2 separate regions of the Homo sapiens genome follow, and region 2 is linked to region 1. The links are contacts of gene promoters, found by promoter capture Hi-C in human tissues and cell types (Jung and others, 2019). All regions are on one chromosome and are shown on one strand. The core of a region is centred on a gene start or on the middle of the fragment in contact, and the rest is flanking DNA. Distances in the headings are between cores, read along the strand shown. Region 1 holds the start of AP2A2 (adaptor related protein complex 2 subunit alpha 2). Region 2 overlaps RIC8A (RIC8 guanine nucleotide exchange factor A).

What was found. The method cuts DNA at HindIII sites, captures the fragments that hold promoters and counts their contacts. A contact is called where the count stands out against the background at its distance.
Region 2: a contact is called between a fragment that was not itself captured here and the fragment with the promoter of AP2A2 in region 1, in 2 of the 25 tissues and cell types used here (heart left ventricle and liver).

What each region holds. Positions count from the first base shown.
Region 1 is chr11:922,823-927,280 of GRCh38, reverse strand. AP2A2 (adaptor related protein complex 2 subunit alpha 2) reads right to left here and starts at 1,411. Exons shown (of 22, transcript NM_012305.4): 1 at 1,193-1,411. The coding sequence starts at 1,259. RefSeq lists a silencer at 1,060-1,599. The HindIII fragment of the contact is 16,179 bases long and covers 1-4,458 here.
Region 2 is chr11:213,094-217,820 of GRCh38, reverse strand. RIC8A (RIC8 guanine nucleotide exchange factor A) reads right to left here. Exons shown (of 10, transcript NM_001286134.2): 9 at 4,403-4,522; 10 at 2,708-3,591. The coding sequence ends at 3,471. It overlaps SIRT3 (sirtuin 3), which reads left to right. Exons shown (of 7, transcript NM_012239.6): 7 at 1,103-2,791. The coding sequence ends at 1,123. Among named protein-coding and RNA genes, the nearest start is that of MIR6743, 6.1 kb to the right of the region's middle. The HindIII fragment of the contact is 6,100 bases long and covers 1-4,727 here.

The DNA.
Region 1 (4,458 bases), core at 162-2,661:
CCAGCCTAGGCAACATGGCGAGACCCCCCCATCTCTACAAAAAACACGAAAATCAGCCAGGCATGGTGGTGGTGCACGCTTGTAGTCCCAGTGACTCCGGAGGCTGAGGTGGTAGGATCACTTGAGGTGGGAGGTTGAGTGCGCCGTGATGGAACTACTGCGCTCCAGCCTGAGAGCCAGAGCAAGACCCTGTCTCAAAAAAAAGAAAAACAAAAATCATGAAGTCAACTATTTGCTGGATAACAAGGAAAAAAATCAACGCAGCAGACAGGAAACTGGCTTTGTTTCTCCCTCAAATTAAATAAGGAGATGGCCTCTGAAAGCCAAGAGGAGGTTCTGCACACCAAAGTCAAATTAATTGGTGGACCGGTGCACCCACCCAGCCACCCTGCACATCCTTCTAACAGGCCCAGCCTTCCTGGCTTGTTTAACGGTTTGGTGTGGATTTTTCCCACCCCGAGGGGACAGGCACGGGGCTGAGAACGAGGTCTGTGATTGGAGCAGCAGGCAGCGAGGCCATCCCACACCCCGACTGCTGCTCGTGTCCAGATTCCCTCCGGGAATGAGTCATTTTAATCGTCGTAGGTGAGATCTAATCAGGGGTTAATAAGCCTCCAGAACCCAGGTCACAAAGCTGTTTCCTGGGAAGACACTGATTTCCAGATTTCTGCTCCCAAAGCTAAAATCCACGCCGTTTTGGAAAACGCTGGGTTAAACGCTCCAGTACTAGAAAGACCAAGGTGACATCATGCTGGGGAGGGGCGTCTTGGCCCGGAACCCCCTTGGTGGTGCCGCAGCCCCCCGCACGGACCAGCAAACGGGAGTGGAGATGTGGATGAAGGGCCGTGCCCTAAACCCCTAGACCCCGCACCCCTAGACCCTGGACACCCCACCCCGCACCCCCAGACCCAGGGCCCCGCTCTGCATCCTGACCCGCACCCCCATACCCGATACCCCAAGACTCTGAGCGCCGCCCGCACCCCCAGACCCTGGACCCCCACCCCGCACCCTGGCCCCCACCCCCAGACCCGGTACCCCAAGACCCCGAGCGCCGCCCGCACCCTCAGGCCCCGGGCCCCGCCCGCATCCCAGCCTGCACCCCCGCCTCGAGGCCCCGCCCCGGGCCTCCGCTCCCAGACCCCGTCTCCGCCGGCGGCCCCGGCCCCGGCCCCACGCCGCCCCCGCCACTCACAGTTGCGGATATCCGAGATGAAGACCGCCAGGCCCCGCATCCCGTCCCCCTTGGACACGGCCGGCATCTTCCGACGCTCGGGAGCGGCCTCGGCTGGCGGACCCGGGCGGAGGAGCGCGGGGAGCGGGAAGCGGGGAGTGCGGTCGCCGTCACCGCCGCGGAGGAGCCGCCGGGGAGCCGCCTAACCACGGCCGCCTCAGGGTCCCAGCGCCGCTTTCTGGGCCGCCGCGCGCGCGCACGTACGGCGCCCGCACCAGCACGCACGCGCACGCACGCGAGCGACGACGGACGGCGGCCGGGGCGGGTGTCGCGTGAGGCAGCGCGCGCGCGTCCGCGGCACGGGGGCGAGCCGGTCGAGGCAGGCGCGGGGGCGCCCCCTGCAGGCGGACACCATGGACGGAGCCGCTGAAGCCACGCGTTCGCGTCCCGGGGCCGCGCCAAGCTGGCGATGCCGCCCGCGTCCCCCACGGGAAGGGCGTGGGTCCGGGCGGGAACCCGCGTGTGCAGCGGGCCGCCTCTGTCGTTGTTGGTGGTCACTGCAAAAGAGGCGGCCACGCAGGCACACGCGTACGGCCTCGTCCTGGGCCTCGGCCCCGCTAGCTTGCCCCGAGCAGTCTCCGTTTTCTTACTTGGAATAAACGACCTGTGAGCGCTGGGCGGCGGGGCAGCTCCGAGGCCAGGGCCTTGTTTGTTCCGCGGGGGCCGGGGCGGGAGGGCGGCGCCGGGAGGAAGCTGGGGCTCCAGGCGAAGGGGTCACAGCCGCTGGACGGCCTTTGGCGAGGAAACCCTCCCCTAGCACGGTATCCTGAGACGGTGGGGCTGGCCCGCCCCTCCTGCCGCCCTGAGCCGCCAGGGCCACATCTCTTGCGGTCCCTGAGCTGGGGGCGAGGCAGGCCCCGTGCCCGACCCAGCCCAGGGTCTGTGTGGCAGCCCAGGTGCCCCCTCCACATCACCTGGGCCTGCAGAGAAACAACCACCCACCCCACCCCAGTGACAGCGGCCGGGGGCGGCAGCCCCTGCGGAATCTAGTCCCTCGGCGGCGCCAGGACTTTTGGCCACTGTTGCCAGGGCCCCCTCTGCTCCCCAGCCCTCTGCACCACTGCAAGCTGGAGGCCTAGGCCCACCCCTGTGGACACATCGCAAGGGAGGACCTGCTGGGCCAGGCTGCACAGCTCCAGGTCCCGGCCAGGAAGAGACCCCAGGGAGTGGGGAAGCAGATGGCCCTGCCTCACTGTCCTTCCCAGAGCCAGATGGCTTTGAACAGGAAGCTCCCTCCTGCTGCAGTGGGGGGATCTGGACCCTGTACCTGGAACTGGCCCAGACCCACCAGCCAGGGCTTTGTCCCCACCCTGGCTCACTTCCGCAGCCCCAGATGAGAGCTTAGCCCTGGTGGAGCCCGGCCAGGAGGAGGGCACAGGACCCATGCCCCTCCCCAATGAACCGGGTGCCGCACCCAGGCTCTGGGCCTCCAGAACTCCTGGGGAAAACCAAGATCTGTGACAGACCCCAGTCAGCATAAGGCAACCAAGTCCATCACTTCCCAAGACAGAGGCACGGAGCCGACCCAGCAGAGGGCTTCCTGGAGGACGGTACACCCCTCCGGAGTCCCTATCCTCTCCCAGTGCCACCTCCTGGCAGAGAAAGTGGTCCCGGGGCTGTTCATTCTTCAGCCTCTCCCTTCCACCAAGAAGCTTCCCTCCCCTGTCCCTGACAACAAATAAAGGCCATTCTGGACACAAGAGCATCTTGTGCCATGTGAGGGGTCCTGGGCTGCTCTCCAGGACAGTCCCAGCAGTCACGAGGACCGTCCACTAACACACGTGGGCAGAGCATGGGCTCTGGGCGTCAGGAGGCTGGCATGCCTAATCCAAGCTCCCATTGGCAGTGGCAGTGCAGAAGACCGAGACAAGCAGACCACTGTGCCCCCCCACCAGCAGCCACTCACAGAGCAGGGCAATGGGGGTGCTGCAGGGGCTGCCCACAGGAGGGCTTGGGCCTGGCAGGCATCCCCCTCCGCCCACTCGGAAGACTCCTCCTCAGTGCCAGCTCTGGGATTCCCACAGACATCCTCCCGTCCACACAAGAGTGTTTAGGGGTCCCAGAAGGCCCGACATGCAGCCATGCAAAAGACTTCCCACCTCCTTCCAGCGTCGTTGCCCTTGCAGACACGCAAGCCCTCCAGATGATTCACTCCAGTCCCAGCCTTGGGTCTGAGTCCATGTGGGCCTCTCTGACCACTGCCACTCCTCGGCTCGGGAGAGGCCAGCTTCGGGAGTGCGCAGTCCTAGGAAACAGTTTCTTTTTCTTTATTTTATTTTTTGTAGTGATGGCATTTCACCACGGTGCCCAGGCCGGTCTTGAACTCCTGTAATCCCAGCATTCCGCCTGCCTGTGTCTCCCAAAGTGCTGGGATTACAGATGCAAGCCACTATGCCTGGCCTATTTATTTATTTATTTATGTTTAATTTTAGAGACAGGGTTTCTCCCTTTGACTCCCAGGCTGGAGTGCAGTGGTACAATCATGAATCACTACAGCCTCGACCTTCTGGGCTCAAACCATCCTCCTGCCTTGGCTCCCAAAGTGCTTAGACTGCAGGTGCACGCCACCACACCTGGCTAAGTTTCTGATTTTTGTGGAGATGGAGTCTCACTATGTTGCCCAGGCTGGTCTTGAACTCCTGGGCTCAAGCAGTCCTCCTGCCTTGGCTTCCCAAAGTGCTGAGATTACAAGCCACTGTGCCTAGCCTCAGTATCTTTCTTTTTTTTTTTTTTTCTTCCTTGAGATGGAGTCTTGCTCTGTCGCCCAGGCTGGAGTGCAATGGCATGATCTCGGCTCACTGCAACCTCCACCTCCCGGATTCAAGCGATTCTCCTGCCTCAGCCTTCTCAGTAGCTGGGATTACAGGCACGCACCATCACGCCCGGCTAATTTTTTGTATTTTTAGCAGAGGTGGAGTTTCACCATGTTGGCCAGGATGGTCTCAATCTCCTGACCTCATGATCCGCCCTCCTCGGCCTCCCAAAGTGCTGGGATTACAGGCGTGAGCCACCGCGCCCAGCCATTTCTTAAATTATTTGAACGTTTGTCATACTTTAGCCACGCAAGGTCACAGTACTATTCCCAAGGGCAGAGGTGGGGACGAGTCGCTTTCCTTCATCCACAGCCATGGGGAAGCCAGGGTCCACAGATACAAGCCCGACGTGGGCATCATGAAGGGAAAACAGGCTGGGGCCCCAAGCTGCGGTGTGGAGGTGCTGTCTCACTG
Region 2 (4,727 bases), core at 1,615-4,114, 710 kb after region 1:
CACAGCCAAACCATATCAACTACAATATATCACAGTTGATGCTCCTCTTGCCTTCCAAGGCAGATGTCTTAGGAAATCCTGATCCTTTTTCCTTGTCCACAGCTGTGGCTGCCTCATGGCTCAGGGCCATGGGGTCAGCACTCTCCTCACCTCCACCAGTCCAAGACCTCCAACCTCTGGTTGCAGGCTGATTTTTTACCAATCATGGTCACTTCATTATGGAGGCAGGGAACCCAGCTAACAATGAGGCTTAAACGCTGAGAGGCGAGTGCCTCCTGGCCAGCTCACAAGGCAGCGGAGATCTTAGATCAGCCCAGCAGGCTTTTTTGAGGGATCCTTTTCCTGCTCCAACTTCATATTTTCTTTTTTTTGTAATGGAGTTTCACTCTTGTTGCCCAAGCTGGAGTGCAATGGCACGATTTTGGCTCACTGCAGCCCTGCCTCCTGGGTTCAAGTGATTCTCCTGCCTCAGCCTCCTGAGCAGCTGGGATTACAGGCATGTGCCACCATGCCTGGCTAATTTCTGTACTTTTATTAGAGATGGGATTTCATCATGTTAGTCAGGCTGGTCTCAAACTCCTGACCTCGGGTGATCCACCTGCCTCAGCCTCCCAAAGTGCTGGGATTATAGGCATGAGCCAGCAGGCCCGGCCCAACTTCCTGTTTTCATAGAAAAGCAGATTGTAACTCTGGTAGCTCCTGTGGAGTTTTGGAAGTGGCTTAATAGGATTTGAACTGTATAATCTAGTTTCAGAGAAATGTATGTAAAATGGGTTATGATTTCATTTTCTGTTTTTTACAGCATTACTATCCAAGGGGTTACTTTTCCAAATAGTGAATGCTTTTAAGCACATGAGCATCAGTACATATTGATTTGGGTACTTTAAGACCCATAGAATGAGGCTCTCCATTTAGCCACCCTGTTCTGCCCAGGCCTGCTGGGATCCTCTTAGCCCAGCACAGCAGCAGCAGTATTTGCAGAAAGCAGCTTGTTTTGTGAAATATTTTGCATGTCTGCAGCTAGAGCTGTTTGAACAGAGATCTGCTGGCCTGCCTGGGTGTGTAAACAGATAGCTGATACCCTCTGTCTTCTGTATTCCAGCTTGATGGACCAGACAAATAGGATGATGGCTGCCCCCACACAATAAATGGTAACATAGGAGACATCCACATCCCAATTCTGACAAGACCTCATGCCTGAAGACAGCTTGGGCAGGTGAAACCAGAATATGTGAACTGAGTGGACACCCGAGGCTGCCACTGGAATGTCTTCTCAGGCCATGAGCTGCAGTGACTGGTAGGGCTGTGTTTACAGTCAGGGCCACCCCGTCACATATACAAAGGAGCTGCCTGCCTGTTTGCTGTGTTGAACTCTTCACTCTGCTGAAGCTCCTAATGGAAAAAGCTTTCTTCTGACTGTGACCCTCTTGAACTGAATCAGACCAACTGGAATCCCAGACCGAGTCTGCTTTCTGTGCCTAGTTGAACGGCAAGCTCGGCATCTGTTGGTTACAAGATCCAGACTTGGGCCGAGCGGTCCCCAGCCCTCTTCATGTTCCGAAGTGTAGTCTTGAGGCCCTGGTGCCGCACTTCTAGCATGTTGGTCTCCTTTAGTGGGGCTATTTTTAATGAGAGAAAATCTGTTCTTTCCAGCATGAAATACATTTAGTCTCCTCAAAGGGACTGCAGGTGTTGACATGAGTTGGAAAGGGAACCCTGGGATACGTGGCGTCCCCTCTATTGGAACAGTCTGAGGACTGAAGGCATTTGTCCCTGGATTTATTGGAGACGGCCCAGCTCCTCCCTCTGAAGGTGGTCACATTCTGTTGACTCTCCATACTCAGCCTCTCCTCCAGAAACAGATCTGTTCCAGAACATTCCAGCACTTTCTATCTGGCCTCCTTGTCCCCACACTACGCCCCCCCACCCTCGCCAGGGCTTCCTCTAGTGACACTGTTAGAGCTAATCTCTGAGACAGGGAAGGCATTACTCACTTAAAACCCAGGCTGAGTCCTGGCCACCTGCTGGATTGTGACATAGGAGGTGGAATCCACTGAACTGCTACTTCTGCACAGGCTCCTTCTCCTGGGGCTGTACCCAGGCCCAGCCCTGATGGCTCACCCTGTCAGGCACCAGCTGCTCCCTCCTGGGCTCTCACCCACCTGCACATCCTCCTTCCTAGCATCACATTACCTGCGTGTTTCCCCAGACAAAAGCACTTCCCATTCTTGAACCTTGCCTACCCTGGGCTGAGCTGACGGCAATAGATTTAATGACAGTGACTCCCAGGAAGGGGGTCCTGTGACTTTGCGCCTTAATAAGAACAAAAGGTGGAATTGGTGACCTAGGAAAACTGTTGAATTCTAAAAAGAATGAAGTTAGTTTCTAACCCTAGTTAATGTTCCTTTTTTATTTTTTGAGTCTTGCCCTGTCACTCAGGGTGGAGTGCGGTGTTATGATCTCAGCTCACTGCAACTTCCGCCTCCCGGGTTTAAGCGATTCTCCTGGGTAGCTGGGATTACAGGTGTGTCCCACCACACCTAGCACATGGGCATATTTGTAATAGAGACAAGGTTTTGCTATGTTGGCCAGGCTGGTCTCGAACTCCTGGCTTCAAGTGATCCACCCACCTCGGCCTCCCAAAGTGCTGGGATTACAGGCATGAGCCACTGTGCCTGGCCCCTTTATTTGATAATTTACACATACATTTTTGTCCAAAACTCTTCTTTATTTCAAGATGATGTTTCTGTGGCTATGTGTGGTATGTGGTATAAATCTCAATCTATGGTCACACGAGGGGCATTTTCCTTGTTGTAAGTGTAGTCTAAACCAGTAGGAAGGAGGTTTAATTGCCAAAACCAGCGAGAACTCGGGCACTGTGGATACTACAGTGGGCAGCTGAACGAGGACCAAGGAGAATGTCTAAGAGGCCTCCAGCCCTGCGCTCAGTGAAGACAGGACAGGAACAACAGAGCATACATACCTTGGAAGGGTGTGTTCTGATATACTCGTATGGAAAGTTCTGACAGGTTTTCTCCCTGGGAAGTGCAGCACATACCCCAACACACTGGCTCTGCCAGTGTGCCAATCCCAGATGGTGCTTGCTTTGTGTGCACCCACACCCAAACCCCTGCCCTCCCATATGCTCTTCTGTGTGCCCAGGTAGGCCCTGCCCTCAGGCAGCAGCTTCTGAACACATTCCTCTTGGCGCAGACAAAAGAAAGTACTTCGTCTGTGGAATTCGAGGCTGAGCCTGAGTTCTAGCACAAGAAGACCGTTGCAGTCCAGAGATGAGAAACTGGACCAGAGGCAAATCATGAACAGAACGGGAGTCAAGAGAAGGGGTTTCTAAGATGGAGAAGTGGGGGCGGGTGTGGATCCAGTGGGATGTGGCTTCCCCAGGTTGCAACCCCAAGGAAGTCTCTGGAAGCAGCACCAGTCCTGATGGGGGAGCAGAAGAGCTGCCATCCTCAGTCAGGGTCCGAGTCAGGGTCCGAGGAGAGCTGCTGCTCCATAGTCTCGCACATGGCATCCTGCAGGGACGTAAGATGACCCCGGGGACTCATCCCCATTGGCTGGATGACTCTGTTCCTGTTGGGGAAAGGTGCAGTGGGGCTGGGGAAGGGGCCCAGTTGGCCAGGCAGGGGTCCTACTCACCCGTGGCTGCTACCTTCCTCTCTACCAAGTAGGCTGCTCCCATTTACTGGGGAAGCCTGGTTGGACCTTCTGTTAACTGGGCCCAAACCCTAACTGCTGCCTCCTGGCTTTAAGCAGTTTCCTATTTTAAACATCTAAATTGGCCTTAAGCAGGCTCTTAATTTGGACACTGGGCCATCTCCAATAAATCTGGCGACATTAGTCTCTTTTTTTTTTTTGAGACGAAGTCTCACTCTGTTGCCAGGCTGGAGTGCGGTGGCACAATGTCAGCTCACTGCAAGCTCTGCCTCCTGGGTTCAAGTGATTCCCCTGCCTCAACCTCCCGAGCAGCTGGGACTACAGGCGCCCACCACCACGCCCAGCTAACTTTTTTTTTGTATTTTAGCAGAGATGGGGTTTCACCATGTTGGCCAGGATGGTCTCGATCTCCTGACCTTGTGATCTACCTGCCTCAGTCTCCCAAAGTGCTGGGATTATAGGCGTGAGCTACCACGCCCGGCCTTAGACAGTCTCTTAATTTCTCTGGGCCTCAGTTATCATCTGTAAAAGGGGCACAATACTGATCTCAATATACCCATCCCCTGGGGGATTTCCTCCAGGGCAAGTGATTTCAAACGTGAGCAATGCAACCTAATACCAGGATCCTAAGCTCTCCTCTGATCCTACCTCCTGGGGCTCACAAGACAGGATGTGGGTCAGCTCTCCCTTCTCCCAGCTGCAGGCCCCTCCTCCTCATGCCACACACCTGGAGAGCTTGTCAAACATGGTCACCAGCTTCATGGCCTCGTGCTCCTTCTGCTCCTCTGTCATGCCCTCCATAGGGTTAGGCGGCTTCTCCTCCACCCTCCCGGTCACAGGGTTTATGCTGTTTCCCAGTGGGTGGAATGTGGGGAATGCATTAGTGACTCTCCAGGACAGGAGGCAAGCCACCTATTTTCCCAGTGGGGTGAGGTGGGCAAGGCAACTGCAGGAAGAGGCCTCCCTCCAGAAGCGGCACAGGTAACCAGCTCCTGCCATCTGCCACCTTCTGGTATCCCAGATAGCACTTAGGAACAGGTGCTTGATTCTGG